3 separate regions of the Homo sapiens genome follow, and all the other regions are linked to region 3. The links are contacts of gene promoters, found by promoter capture Hi-C in blood cells and fetal thymus (Javierre and others, 2016). All regions are on one chromosome and are shown on one strand. Each heading gives the region's core, a stretch centred on a gene start or on the middle of the fragment in contact. The rest is flanking DNA. Distances are from core to core; before and after follow the strand shown.

What was found. Contacts are between HindIII fragments. The CHiCAGO score rates a contact against its expected background, and 5 or more counts as called.
Region 1: the fragment with the promoter of EFR3A here is called in contact with the fragment with the promoter of KHDRBS3 in region 3 in 1 of 17 cell types (fetal thymus); the score reaches 6.6 in fetal thymus.
Region 2: a contact is called between a fragment that was not itself captured here and the fragment with the promoter of KHDRBS3 in region 3, in 1 of 17 cell types (neutrophils). The highest score is 6.1, in neutrophils.

Annotation. Positions count from the first base shown.
Region 1 is chr8:131,901,525-131,906,176 of GRCh38, reverse strand. It overlaps EFR3A (EFR3 homolog A), which reads right to left and starts at 2,084. Exons shown (of 23, transcript NM_015137.6): 1 at 1,855-2,084. The coding sequence starts at 1,864. RefSeq lists an enhancer at 1,088-1,137 and a silencer at 1,708-2,187. The HindIII fragment of the contact is 8,534 bases long and covers 1-4,652 here.
Region 2 is chr8:138,677,011-138,681,109 of GRCh38, reverse strand. It overlaps COL22A1 (collagen type XXII alpha 1 chain), which reads left to right. Exons shown (of 65, transcript NM_152888.3): 40 at 1,434-1,493. Among named protein-coding and RNA genes, the nearest start is that of FAM135B, 180 kb to the right of the region's middle. The HindIII fragment of the contact is 1,568 bases long and covers 1,613-3,180 here.
Region 3 is chr8:135,454,992-135,459,746 of GRCh38, reverse strand. It overlaps KHDRBS3 (KH RNA binding domain containing, signal transduction associated 3), which reads right to left and starts at 2,291. Exons shown (of 9, transcript NM_006558.3): 1 at 1,793-2,291. The coding sequence starts at 1,880. It overlaps LOC101927872 (a long non-coding RNA gene), which reads left to right and starts at 1,772. Exons shown (of 4, transcript XR_002956731.2): 1 at 1,772-1,865. RefSeq lists a silencer at 2,120-2,419. The HindIII fragment of the contact is 3,136 bases long and covers 1-2,754 here.

The sequences.
Region 1 (4,652 bases), core at 835-3,334, 3.6 Mb after region 3:
GTGACTGCCAAAGGAGAGAAAAGGCAAATATGAACACTATTCACCTCACACTGGTACCCCCAATCAATCCACAGCACATTTTTATTCAGTCATAAAAAATGTACCATGACAAATATTAACAATGACAGATAAAACAAACATTTCACTTGTCTTCCAGTCAGGGTGTGAAATCTGCATTCTTAACTATGTAAACTCCACCATGGCCCATCCTAAAATCATTTTGCAGAATGAACTCAACATTTGAAAAGAAACGAGTTTACTATATCCACTCTGTGAAGCTAGATAACCCTAGAACATAACTAAAAATTTTATTTCACAGGATAATTCTGGCATGTTACCAATAAATTCTACTTGAAGCCTCAACTTTCAATAGGTGCTTACCTCCTCCCCTTTGGTTTCTCAGAAAATAAAAGATTAGCATAGTGCTAGTCTCAGATATTCACTGAATAACGTGAACATGAATTTAGAAGTACTAAACTGGCAATAACAATGAAGATGATTGTAAATGATATTCCTCCAGCCAAAAGGAATAAAACAGAAATTTAAACTGGACATATTTACTGGATGCGAAGTCCAAGAACGTGAGTTAAGGACACACAGTAGTGTGTGAAGAAAACAAAATCCACAGTACCCACACATGTATGAGGAGTTAAAAGTAATCTCTACATCAGGACTATGTAAAGATTTGCCACAGGAAAATCTTTAAATCTCAAAAAGATATTTAAATATCTTTAATATCAATTTAAATTTAATATCCTTAAATATCAGGAAAATATCAATCTTTATAATATCAAGAAATAACTCATCTTTTCCCACCACTAGACGAAACGTGCATTGGAGACTGACCTGGAAATTCAGCGTCCCAGATGGCTACAAAACAAGGACAACTAGAAGTAGTTATGAATTCTAGGAAATATATTCACAAGTGTGTAAAGATTCTATAGTATTGAACACTTAGTCAAAGGAGTCCTACTTGAATTCTCAAATCAATGACAAAGTTGCTTCCTCTCTACCCAAGATCAGGAGCTTCCCTAGTTTGCACATATCCACATTGACCAGTGGCTATAAAGTCACACTGCGATTATCTGGGTCATTTTAAAATAGGTCATTAGCAGTACTTGTAGTATCGCGTCTGTCTAAAAATCCTCCAACACCGAGTGACTTTTAAACTTTGGGGTGCCTTGGTAACCCCAGGGACGCTTATTAGACATGCAGACTCCGGGGCCCAAGCTCCAGACTAATTCCATGGGAATAGGGCGGGTCCCGAAACCGGCATTTTTAATCATCTGCCCGGGTGAATCCGAAGTGTGGTCCAAAAGCCACAGTCGAGGTGCCTCTGCCTAACAAGCTCCACAGAAAGCTCCGACTTCAGCCGCCCCGACGGCGATACGGACGCCGAGTTAGGCTGTCGGGGGTCTGTCTGGCGGCCGCGGGAAGGGACTCGGGGCCGGCGCGTCCACTAGCGACGTCCGGCCCGAGGTGAGAAGGGACTGACAATGGTACCGCAGTTATTTTCAATATTTCCATAAAGTCCCACGAAGCCGTGTGGCCGTGGGAAAAGGGCTTTAACTTTGAAATCCCACGGGTCAGGTTACCACCAGCTCTGCCGCCTCCTAACAGCGCGTCCCCGCAGTTCCCTTAACGTTCGGGCCTCAGTTTCCCGATCCGTGCAACGGGCTCACGCCATCTCCGGAAGGCTAAGCCGAAACGAAACTAACTCCGCCGCTCGCAGACACTTCCTGGCTCTGCTCAGCGCGGCCCAGCCTCCCCAGCCGCCCGGGAGGAGTACCCGGCCCAAGCGCGTCGCGCAGGCAGTCGCCTCCCAACGCCCCCGGCCCTCGGCCGGCCACTCACGGGTAGGCATGGCGATCTCGACCGCGCTCGCCGCCGCACCGAGGCTCAGCGGGGCCGCGCAGGGAGCGCCGACGGCACCATGACGGCCGTTGCTGGGCCGCGGAGGCCGGAACGAGGCGAAGGGCGAAGGGCGAAGGGTGGAGGGAGCGGACGCGGACCCCGCGGTCACGCAACCAAGCGGGCGACAGCTACCGCCGCCAGCCCACTCCTCGCCGGGCGGCGCGACGGACGACCCACGCCCGTTACGTCAGCGCGCCGCCGCCGTCCCGGCCCCGCCCCCGCGGATGGCCGGGCTCGGCCCAGGATCCCTTGTCGAGCGGGTGGAATGGGTGGCTGGGGACAGCCACGTAGAACAACTTCGGGTGCCTTCTATTTTCCAAGCCTGGTGACCTGCGTGGCATTCGTTTTCCTTGATCTCTATTTGGAGTGCATCACTTTACGTTTGTGAGGATGATGGCTTTGAGCGCACGGAGTACCTGTGGGCTTTTTCTTTTGCAATCGGTTTAACTTGCAGTGCGTTTTGCATACTCTGAAAGCATGGTTTATTTGAGATGCACTAAGGTCATTTGGGGTGATGGCTGCTCATTTTTTGAGAGGGCAGAAAATGTAATTTCCTTTTGCTCTTGTGACTTTCAGAGCGACCTTATCCCTCAGGAGTTAGTCTCCTCTGGAGAGGGCAGCTCTGTGCACTTGGCTGAGCTACTCTTCTTGACTCTGGGTGTCATTAATAATTGAGGTATCTAATAGTCACCAAGCTGAGCAGACACCGGGAGCCAGAGAGCTGAGCAACGCACCTACACTATGCTAGGCGCCGTGGGCTGCGGACAGCCCATATGGAGATATAAAAGCCAACCGCAGAGGTTTAACACAGCCTTCCTCAAAGTGGGTCAAAGTGGTCCAGGATCCTTTTGTGCTTGGATCCCCTGGGGACTTGTTGAAAAGCAGATTCCTAGGTGCTGAGCCAAATCTACGAACACATATACAGATGATTTAAATACAATGATAATACTGAGAACCTTTGTCCTAAAAAGTAGGGCTAACCTTCTGATTAAGAAATGATATTGTGCAGTACTGGGAGGAGAAGATGAAGAACATGAAGATCAGAGCTAGGAAGCGCTGAGGAGAAATTAGTCTTGGCTTGAGGTGGACTTGGAAGAAAGCAGAATTTGAATTAGCAAAGCCTAGGGGAGTCCTAAAAGAGGCTGGGGAGAGGATGAAGGGTAATTTAGAGTGAGTCATGGCAGCTGGGGAGAGGAGAGTGTGTACTGTACCTATAAAAGAGACTGTCCAGCTGGGAACGGTGGCTCACGCCTGTAATCCTAACACTTTGGGAGACCGAGGTGGGCGGTGGGCAGATCACCTGAGGTCAGGAGTTCGAGATCAGCCTGGCCAACATGGCGAAACCCTGTCTGTACTGAAAATGCAAAAATTAGGCGGGGGTGGTGGCACATGCCTATATTCTCACTCAGCTACTTGGGAAGCTGAGGAAGGAGAATCGCTTGAACCCAGGAGACGGAGTTTGCAGTGAGCCGAGATCGGGCCACTGGACTCTAGCCTGGGCTACAGAGCAAGACTCCATCTCAAAAAAAAAAAAAAAAAAAGAGAGACTGTCCCTTGCTAACAGTAAAGACCAAACTACCTAGTGCTTATTCATGTTTTAATGCCCTGTTGCATATTTTATCACCTATAAAATCTTTCATGCTTCCAGTTTTCTCCCTAAGACTTTGGCATTATCTTGATTCCTCTCTGCTACAGCACTTTTCTCACTGCATCCTAAATAAACTGTCATGAGTGCTTGTGTTTTACCATGGGCCTATTTGCTTTTCAGAAAATGGCAAAAGCCATATTCTGTTCATGTTTATGTATCCTTGGCTGGCACACAGGTGGGGGCCAGAGTATATTAATTCAATATATAAATAAAGGATTTTATTCAAGAGTATGAAAACAAAAACAGGTAAATAAAACTGATAAACAACTTTACATTCAACCTTGGAATTTGTCTTTTAAGAAACTGTTCTGTGATTTTTACAAAAAGCATAACAGTAACATTAAATTATCAGAAGCAGGGCCTTGCAGGGGGAATGGTGTGGCAGAGAAACTGTGGAGGTAGGCAGCCAAATCGGAAGGCCCCAATACAGGAGAGAGTGTTAGGTGCTCAGTCTTGGTGGTGGCTGTGGAAAAAGAAAGAACTGAATCTTACTTTGGAAAAGAATCCCTGGATTTGTTGGCTGCTGACTTGGGAGCAATAGAGAGGCATCTGTTAGTTATGTAACTCCAAGGTTGGAACAAGGAAAGTGGTGGTGCTGGAGAGCAGTAGACCAGTCAGGAAGAAATGCTGTTTTAGGGAAGGGGTGTGAAGAAAGGTGTGAGTTTCTCCTTGACATATTGAGCTTGAGGTGGTATCAGAGGGAGACATCCGAGTGAATGAATCTGAAGGCAGCTGGGCAAGCCAGGATGAAGGTGGGCTGAGGGACCTCAGGGTGGGAGATTTGGAAATCTTTGGTCCCGGGACAGGAGCTGAAGCTGGGTGTCAAAGAGAGCCCTTTTAGGGAAGATGTGGAGGCAGTGAAGGCACAGAGAGACGAGATCCACAGGATACAGTGCCCCAGGAGCCAAGGGAAGACATGACTCCAAAAGGCAGACATCTCTGCTTACATTACCTTGAAAAAGATGCAGATCCCAAAGGCCCTGAAATTGTCCTGCACATACTGGTTGTTTTTTTGTTTGTTTGTTTTTCATTTCTTTCTGTTTTTAATCCTCTTGGTCTTTTGGTTTTGTATTGTTGCCAGAAATAAAAA
Region 2 (4,099 bases), core at 1,147-3,646, 3.2 Mb before region 3:
TGTGGGGTGGCAGCAAGAAGGCAGGGGTTTATCTCTGCAGGCATGCAGTTGTTGGAGGAAGCCTAGGGGAAGTGGGGGAGGCAGCATTAAAGAGCAGAGGCAGGCTGAGACCCCCCCCGGGGGGAAGAGTGCAGACATCCCTGACATGGGTCCAGTTGACCAATCAGTTTCAACTCCGTGAGTCTCAGAGCAAGTCATACTGCTCCTTTGGCCAAATGTTTCCTCCTACTTAAAATGTGAGATGTCTAAACACATGACCCATTCCAGTGTTGATATTGTGTAAATGTGTAAGTCAGAATGTGGCTTAGAAAGCTTTCCATAGTCAATTGGCATTGGGAAGACAAATTGGAATTTGAGGTCATCTTTCATTGAAGAATGGGTTGCTCAGCCGGAGGAAGAAGGTAAGAAGCAGGGGAAGCTAGGGAGAGGTGGAGAAAGAGATCCTAGAGAGGGTGACATCCACAAGGCTTGCCCTGGTACTGTCCCAGGTGCTGATTGAAATTAAGGAAATTTCCTTAGGAAATCAAGGAAGGGAGTTATTTGAAGGTTTTCCTTGGCTGCCCCTTGGCCCCTTCTAATTCCTTATAACTGCAGGAAGACTCTTGAAGATGCCAGTACTTCTCTTGAGTGGCACTTGTTTCTAGCAGGATAAGTAAGCTTTGGCTTCATACAGAACTGGGTTAGAATCCCAGCTCAGCTACCTACAAGACAGATGACTCAAAGGCAAGTGGCTCAAGTGGCTTTGTCTCTCTGAGCCTCAGTTCCTTTTCCGTATGAAGGAGTAAAGAGTGTTTAACCCCTACAGGGCTCCTCAGGAGATCTATGATCTTATGACACACAGCTGTTGCTCAATAAATATCATCCTCCGTCTACAACCCCCACACTTCCTTCCTCCCACATCTCTTCCTTGGACACTGTGCTACCGATTCTAGCTCATGTGCTCTGTTCTTTCTTAACCATTAGCCTTCTGGCTTTTCCTGTCAGAACATTAAGATATTTTTGCTCTTCTTGGGGCCGTTTTCTAAAAGTTTCAGTTTATGAAATTGTAAGGTCATTTCTTGGGGGAATTTGTTAGCATCACAGTGGACCGTAAACAGACAAACGGAGCCACACCTAGTGTAGCAGAAAGCAGTCAGTGACTCCACGCTTCCAGACTGGGCTGGGAGAGGCCTTTCTGTCATGCTGCCTCCTCTGAAAAAGTTTATTTTGGTCAAAGGCAGATCTCAATGCCTGACACAGAATGATGGATGGAGGATTCTTTTGTTCCTGCATCCAGGAAATGGTTATTAGCTGCCACCTGTGCCAGACCCTAATCTGGACACTGTGGATACAGAGATGCATAGATCCAGTACCTAACAGAGGGGCTGAATTATTTTAGGTGCTTGGTAAACATTTGTTTGGTGAAGAAATGAGTGAAGATTTTCTACTTTCAGGCTGCTTGCGGAAAAGTCAGAGGGTCAGAAAACTGTGCACTGGGAGGGCAATGTGTTAAGGTCAGTGAAGATCTATGCAAACATTTGCAAAAAGACAGAAGGACAAGACAGGCAGAGGCAGCTTTATAACAACAAAATAATGGGACTGAGTCTTAGTTGATAAGTAGGCTTTGGAAGCTTAGAACATGGATGGAAGAAGATCCCAGACAAGGGGAAATAGCATGTATACAAAACAGAAGAGCAAACAAATACCATGGAAGCATACAAACTAGGTTGTTGACATGACTTAGCTTGCAATGGTCATGGTTTGCTGATGTACATGGACCATGGCCTTGGGACAGGAAAGGGACAGTTTCTGTTTCAAACTAAAACAGAAAATAAGAATAACAGGAAAATCTGCATTAAGATTTTTAAAGCAAAACCAAAGTGCAAAGAAATATAGATTTATCTGACATTTATATGTGTTTAGTTCACTTTCTATCTTCTACCTCTGCATATAAGGTAATAATAGAGGGAGGACTGTTTGAGTTCAGAAGTTCGAGACTAGCCTAGATAACATAATGAGACCCTATCCCTATAAAAAATGTCAAAAATTAGGCAGGTGTGGTGGTTCACATCTGTAGTCCCAGCTATGGAGGGAGGCTGAGGCAGGAGGATTGCTTGAACTTGAGAGGTCAAAGCTGCAGTGAGCCATGATTACACCACTGTACTCCAGCCTGGGTGACAGAGCAAGACCTTGTCTCAAAAATAAAGAAATAATAAATAAGTGATAATAATGCAACCATAATATACAATGTATTTCTCAACCTTATATAGTTGTTTTTAAATGTCTTCATAAGATACATGAGGATTTGGTAGAACTTTTTTTTTAATTGATGAGGACCCAGTGATGCAGAGAGGTTGTGGGACTTACCGAAGGTCACAGGATGAGGTTGATTTGGTCCTGAGACTGGACCTAGAATCACCTGACTACCAGCTTGAAATCTTCCTACATGCCCCTCTCCATTGCTACAATGAACTGGTGACAGATAAATCACATGTCATGATGGTCATTCTTGGTTCATGACACTTGTTTCCATATTTGTCTTATTTTTTTTTTACTCCCTCTATTCCCCAACCACCCCATAGAAACTAGTTAGATTTTCTAGGGATCCGAAGTATCTTGAACTTCCAAGAACCATTCATATCATATTATTCTAAAGAAACAGATTATACTAATTGAGAATTTACAGAAAATTTGAGGAGGGAACTGCTGGCAGAGATGAGGGCAGGGCAAGGGATGTTGCTGACTCCTAGGGACCCAGAAACAGCAGGTAGTGTGACTCAGAGGCCCAGAGGGACCAGGGGAAGAAATGATGTCAAGGAGACCTAGTGAGAGATTTAGGTCTTGGTTTGTGTCTTTTGTGAGAACTTCGCAAGGTCTGTTCCTTCATATCCCCATGAACATCCCTTCTCTTCTGAACTTAGCACTGAGTATTGACAATGGGCACTGAGTAATCTTCTGGGCTTGGAATCTAGAATATGGTTTGCAGTGAATGAATAAGCATTAGTTGAATGAATACATAGCTTATGTACTCATCCAGGCAACGGTTGTACTATAGGAAAGGCAAGTCATCTTAGAGCCATGAATGAGATATTTTGTAATGCACAATAACCTAAACCTTAATAAAGCAACAAATTACCTAGCAATATCGAGTTCTACCTTAATTAGCTGCAACATTATCTCATTGGCTCTTCATAACAAGCTTCTGAGGCTGTTTCCGTTTGTCATACGAGTTAACTCATTCCAGAGGTATTAAGTGGCTTGAGCAAGATCACCTGCCGTCTTGGCCTCAAGCTTGACTGTGGTTCAGCTGGCTGAATAAGCTCAGGATCATGGCCTCCTACACAAAACTGTTGGGGCCATGTCTGTTTTGGGCCAAATTCAATTTCGATTTTGGAAAGGTAATATGCAAAATATACACATAATGACATTTATGATAGTATCTGGGGCAACACCCCTAATCAAGCACATTAATCCTTAGGCGACAAAAATATGTAAATTTTCAACACACAATGGAATAACCAAAGACTGCAAATAGCACAAGTCAGGTTTTGCTGCCAACTGAGTTGAGATCAACACTTGTTTTTAAGGGCTGAGGATTTTGAAATTACGAATAAGGCGTGGCTCGGCCTTGGCCATGTTCTCCAGGAAATGGCAAACAAAATTTCTTCCCTTTTTCAATTTCTCCCTCCTTTTTCCTTTTCCATCAAAGTCCAGCATGGCAGTACAACGAGAACAGAAGCAAACACAACTCCTAGCTCAGGTTCAGTGCTGTGCTGGGCTCTGTGCCAAGCACTCTCTCTGCATAATCTCATAGAGTGAGCACAACATCTGCAGACCTGGCAGCTCCTGTCCTGTTCCCCTTGTAGGTGAGGAAACTAGAGCATAGGAACTCATCACTTTCCTAAGTTAACAGTTAATAGGTGTTGAAACCAGAACTTAAATCCAGGCCTCTGACACCCACGTCCACACTGTTAACTATGCTTGAAGGCAAAGGTCTTATCTCGGTCCCCTTTAGGCTCCTCCTCCCACATCCAGAAGGATGATGTGCAAAATGTAGGTACTTGGCAAATTATTGGTGAATTGATAAATTAATTTATGGGTGATTTGGGATCTAAATTGA
Region 3 (4,755 bases), core at 1,042-3,541:
TGGCAACACGGCAGAGAAAATAATTCTGACTTTTAAAATAAGATAACGCACTGTACTTTCAGTTTAACTGTTCCTTAATTGAGTACAACCTAACTTTGATTCAGCTACTTTATTAGGAAAAATGCACTTGAGTCCACAGTCCAGAATATTTCCAATGCCACGGATCTCATGCAATGTATGAAGAAATTTCTTTCACAGAGATGACAGCCCAGCAGGCAATAAAAGATACATGTAAATCATCAGGCACAGGAGTACAAACTCAACTGCAGAACTGTTCAGAGGGCATAGAAATAAAACTTAATTTTTTTTCTTTTATTTAGGAATGCATGCCCATTCACTTTTTCACAAGCCCATTTTATTAAAGAAATAAAAATAAGCCTGCAATTAAAATAAAATGAGGGAGCTCCATAAGTCTATTTCTGTTCAACAATTCAAATATTCTTAAATTCTTGGAGACAGTAAAGAGTCTCTCCTCCACCATCGGTCAACCACACACACACTCTACTCTGAAGAACTGGTTGAAACAGGCAAAAACTGGAGGTCACTGTTTTAAAATATAGGTATCTATATACAAATAGAATATGTCTGCCTCATCTTTCACTTCCAACAATAAAAAAGCCAGGGCGAGCACTAAGAGCAGCAGATCCGATTCATCTAGGGAACCACAGACTGTCAGTGCACAGTAATTCCTGCAAAAGGTAACAGATCTGACCAGATCATGTTGCTGCCATTTCCCAGAGAAAAGACAGACCAGTGGCACCCACACCCATCTTCATCTGAAACACATATTCCAGGAAAAGTAGGAGACTGCTCCCAGGAAGGAAGGCTTAATTTACCGTGCATGCCAGCAGATGATTCAGGAAGCCACAGGAGGAAAAAGCCAGGGGAACACTGTCCCGGGTAGGCGTGCCTCCAGAAATCTCTGTATCCCTGACCCGCAGTACTTCCTAGGATCTTTCACACCCTGAGCTGGCTGGAGTCGTGTGAAAATGGCAAGGACTCCCTTCACCACTATTCCGAACCTCAAGCCAGCCACCAATGAGGGTCACCCAACCCAACGCCCTCCGGAACGGTGCTCTTTTGCCGGCCTCTTCTCCCCTACTGACTTCTCCAAGGGCCAGCCTGCAAGGCTTGGCATGGGCTGCCCATCCCCTGGGAGGGCTGACTGCCCCGCCAGGGCTGTTGGAGCCTGGACACAGGAGAGACAAAGGGCTGGGAGGGGGAACTGGGCTCCTCCCCTGGGACCACGGAGCTCCTCTCCTCTCAGGTGCTGGGGTCTGACCCCAACCCTCTTCCAAGGTCCCCAAACTTCGCTAACAATGCAAGCACCTGTTCCCTTCACCTCTTCTGCATTTGAGTCCCTCAAGTCCTTCCATTTTCCTCCAGCTTTTTCTCCAGTACCTTAGACAAACCAAACGCCCTACTTCCCCGAGTCCAACACGCTCCCCTTCCATGACATAATTCAACCTCGTTCCCAACGAAGCCCCCAGATGGTCGCTGTCCCCCACCCAGAAGTTTCCCCTGGGTGTGCCCGAGTCCCCAAAGATTTCCTTCAAGTCTCACCCATGCGCCCCAGCCTTCTCCTTCCAAGTCCCCAAAATTCACATCAGGGTCTTCCCCTAGGTGTCCCACAGCCTCCCAGGTCCCCGTGCAAACGACCCCGGGGGCCACCCGGGCCTCCGTCTCCGCCGCGTCCGCTGACAGCAGAGGGCACGGAGGGGCCCCCTGGGCCCCCGCGTTTCCACCCGGCCCCCAACCGCCGCCGGCCGGCAGTTAACGGCCGGCGCCTCACCTTGGTTCACCAGGCGCAGGGCGTGCGTGAAGGAGGGGTCCAGGGAGTCCTTCTCCGCCATCAGCTCGGGCAGGTACTTCTCCTCCATGCTCGCCGGCCGCCGGGCCCGGGATGTGGACTCCAGGCGCACGGGGGGCGGCGCCCGGCAACCCCCGACCCCGCCCGCGCCCCCAGCGGCGGGGACCCGGGGGCCAGACGCGGCAGCAGCGGCCAAGCCGGGCGGTCGGCCGGAAGGCGGCGGCGGCGGCACGGGGGCGGGAACCGACCGCTCAGCCCCGATCCCCGGTGGCCGCCGAGTACCCAGCGCCGGCGGCCCCCGCGCTCCGGGCGCGGGCCGAGGAGGAGCGGGCGCGGGCGGCGCGGTTAGGCGGGCCCTCGGGCCGAGCGGGCTGCGGCGCCCCTGAGGCAGTCCACGGCGATCCCCGCCAGTCCCGCCAGCACCTGCCAGCACCCGAGCCACAGCTGCGACCTGCACGCCGCGCGCCGCCCCGCGCACTCTGAGCCACCGCGCCGAGCGCCCAGCGCCTGCCGCCGGCCCCGCCCCGCCCGGCTCCGCCCCGCCCCGCCCCGCGCCCGCCGCCCCGCCCTGCCGCGCCGCGCCTGCGCACTGGCGCCCACCGCCCCGCCGCCCGCCGCCTCCTGGGGCCGCTCTCCACTGCGAGTCCGCCGGGACTAACCGGGCGTTTGCGAGAGGGGGTGCGTCCAAGGGCCCCTCCCGCGTGTCCGGCGCCCACCTTTGGCCCTGAGGGCCGAGTGGGGAGCCCCACGACGCTATTACAGCCTTTCAGATGCACGGACTGGGAAACTGGGGCTCAGAGAAGTCAAGTGGCTCGCCCAAGGTCACCCAGCGAGTGATCCTGGGAAGAGGGGACAAGGGCCGAGCTGGAGCTGGGAAGGGCGCCCCAGTTCGCCCCAGTCGCGCTCTGAGGAATAGCAGCGGGACCGCCCTGCTCTCTAAAGCTTCCTGGACTTCTCTAAGTTATGTCGCGTTGCTGTCCCCTCGTACTTATAAGAGAGTAAGGCAGGGGCGCCGTCCTTTCTCCGCGCCTGAGCTCAGAGCGCCAACCTCCTGAGATCCGCCAGCTCAGAGGTCGGTTACATAAAAGCGCGTGCCCTTCTGGGCGTCTTTGTCATCCCGACTTGCTCCTGGGTTGTCATTCTCTTAGGTCATAAACCGGCTGTGCCTGGACACAGCTGAGTGAGCCGCGTCTGAGCTCATCCGCTCCTGGGGAGAGGCCCTGGGACGCCCCGCCTGTCGGTGGCAATGCTCTCTGTCCCCTTCCGCCCACCCCCAACCCCCAGCAAATGCTCTCCAAGGCCATTTCAGATTTCCCGAGGCATGTGGAATAAACGTCCCCCAGGAAGGCGAAGGACTCCAGTCCTTGCCCTGCCATTTTTCCTGCCTTCAAACAGCCAGCTCAAGTCCCGGCCTCAATGTCACCTTCCCTGGACAGCCTCTCAGGACCTCCCTGGCAAAGCAAGTCACAAGTCCCTTCTCTGTGTCCCCCCAGCTTGGTCAGAGGTCATTCACAGACAGCTGTAATTCTGTTTTCAGTAGACCATGAGCATCAGGGACAGAGTTTGAGTTTTGTTTTTGAGGGGGAAGGTCACCAGTGTGTAGTACAGGGGGCAGGGATGGAGGGTACTGGAAATGTCTCTTGGAGGAATAAGTCAGTGGCATACCACTCTCAGCCAATAGCCTGAGGACAATCGCCACAGTCCCCCAGGCAGCCCCCCCGCACTCCCAATGCAAATGGAGGCAGCTTTACAAACCCGAGGGGAGTGGGAGGTGGTAGAAATCTTGGAAGCTCTAAGTCCCAGACCCGAGTACTCAACTGCCCTCACTCTCAAGGCTCCACTCCTCCCCCGGCTAAGGTGTCATTTCAGAGTCCCCAGTAAGAGTCTTCTTCATGGCTCTCTTCAGTCTCAACTTGCAAGAAGCAGAAAAATGGCACAGTTAAAAGCAAAGCCTCTGGGGTTAAACAGCCTGGATTTGGAATCATGGATCTGCTGCTCACTAGCTGTGACCTTGGGCAAGTTTCTTCACCTCAGGGTCCTCATCCGTCAAGTGGAGATGACAACCAAACTTATTTCATAAGAAGTTCATGAGAATAAATATGTTAACTCATAATGAAATACCCAAAACAGCACTCTGCCTATCGGAAATGCTGAGCTGATCTTTGCTTTGGGTTTTTTCCGGCTGCAAGGCTGTCCTCTGGGCCTTCTGAGCCTCCCTCGCCTTCCCTTCAGCTGTAACTCCAGGGATGCTGGGCAGACACCCATCTGTGGACTCCTCACTGCTGGTCGTGGTGCTTCGCCCCGGCCTGGCCAACTGAGTGAAGGACCTGTGACTGTCGCACCTCTGTTTCTGACCTGGGCCCAGCGTCAGGCTTGTAGGCTGCTTGTGGCTGCTCTTCTCAATCCCAGGTCTATGACTGGCCTCTCAGCCCCAGAAACAAAAAGGGCACTTCCCAAACCACCCTCACCCAGAAGGGCAGGAGTCTGGATGCCTGCATCCTGGCTGCTACCTGCCTCACTATGCCACTTTGTTAATTAACTTAGAGCCTGAGCTTCCCAGTCCACACCCCCAAAACCAGGGGTATGCCAGTAGTCCTGCTGGACAACAGGAGGGACTCATAGGACAATGTCTTTTCCTTTTACAACTGAAGGGAAGCATACACCTCTGGCTTATATTCCTGTGTCACAGAACTTACATTCTATGGTAGGGTTCCCTGACAGCTGCTTGTAAAGGGGGAAAGGGGGACAGAGAATGTTTGGGATGAGGCTAGAAGAGGACAATGGGGCCTGGATGCCCAGCGGCTTCATTGGAACACTTAGACTCTCTCTCTTCTAACAGCTCTTCTCCCTCTGTGTCTTCCATTCAGACCATCTGCCCCGGTGACAGTCCAGACCTTGAGTAATCACTATTTTTATTAAGTGCCAGCCCTATGTTTATGACTTAG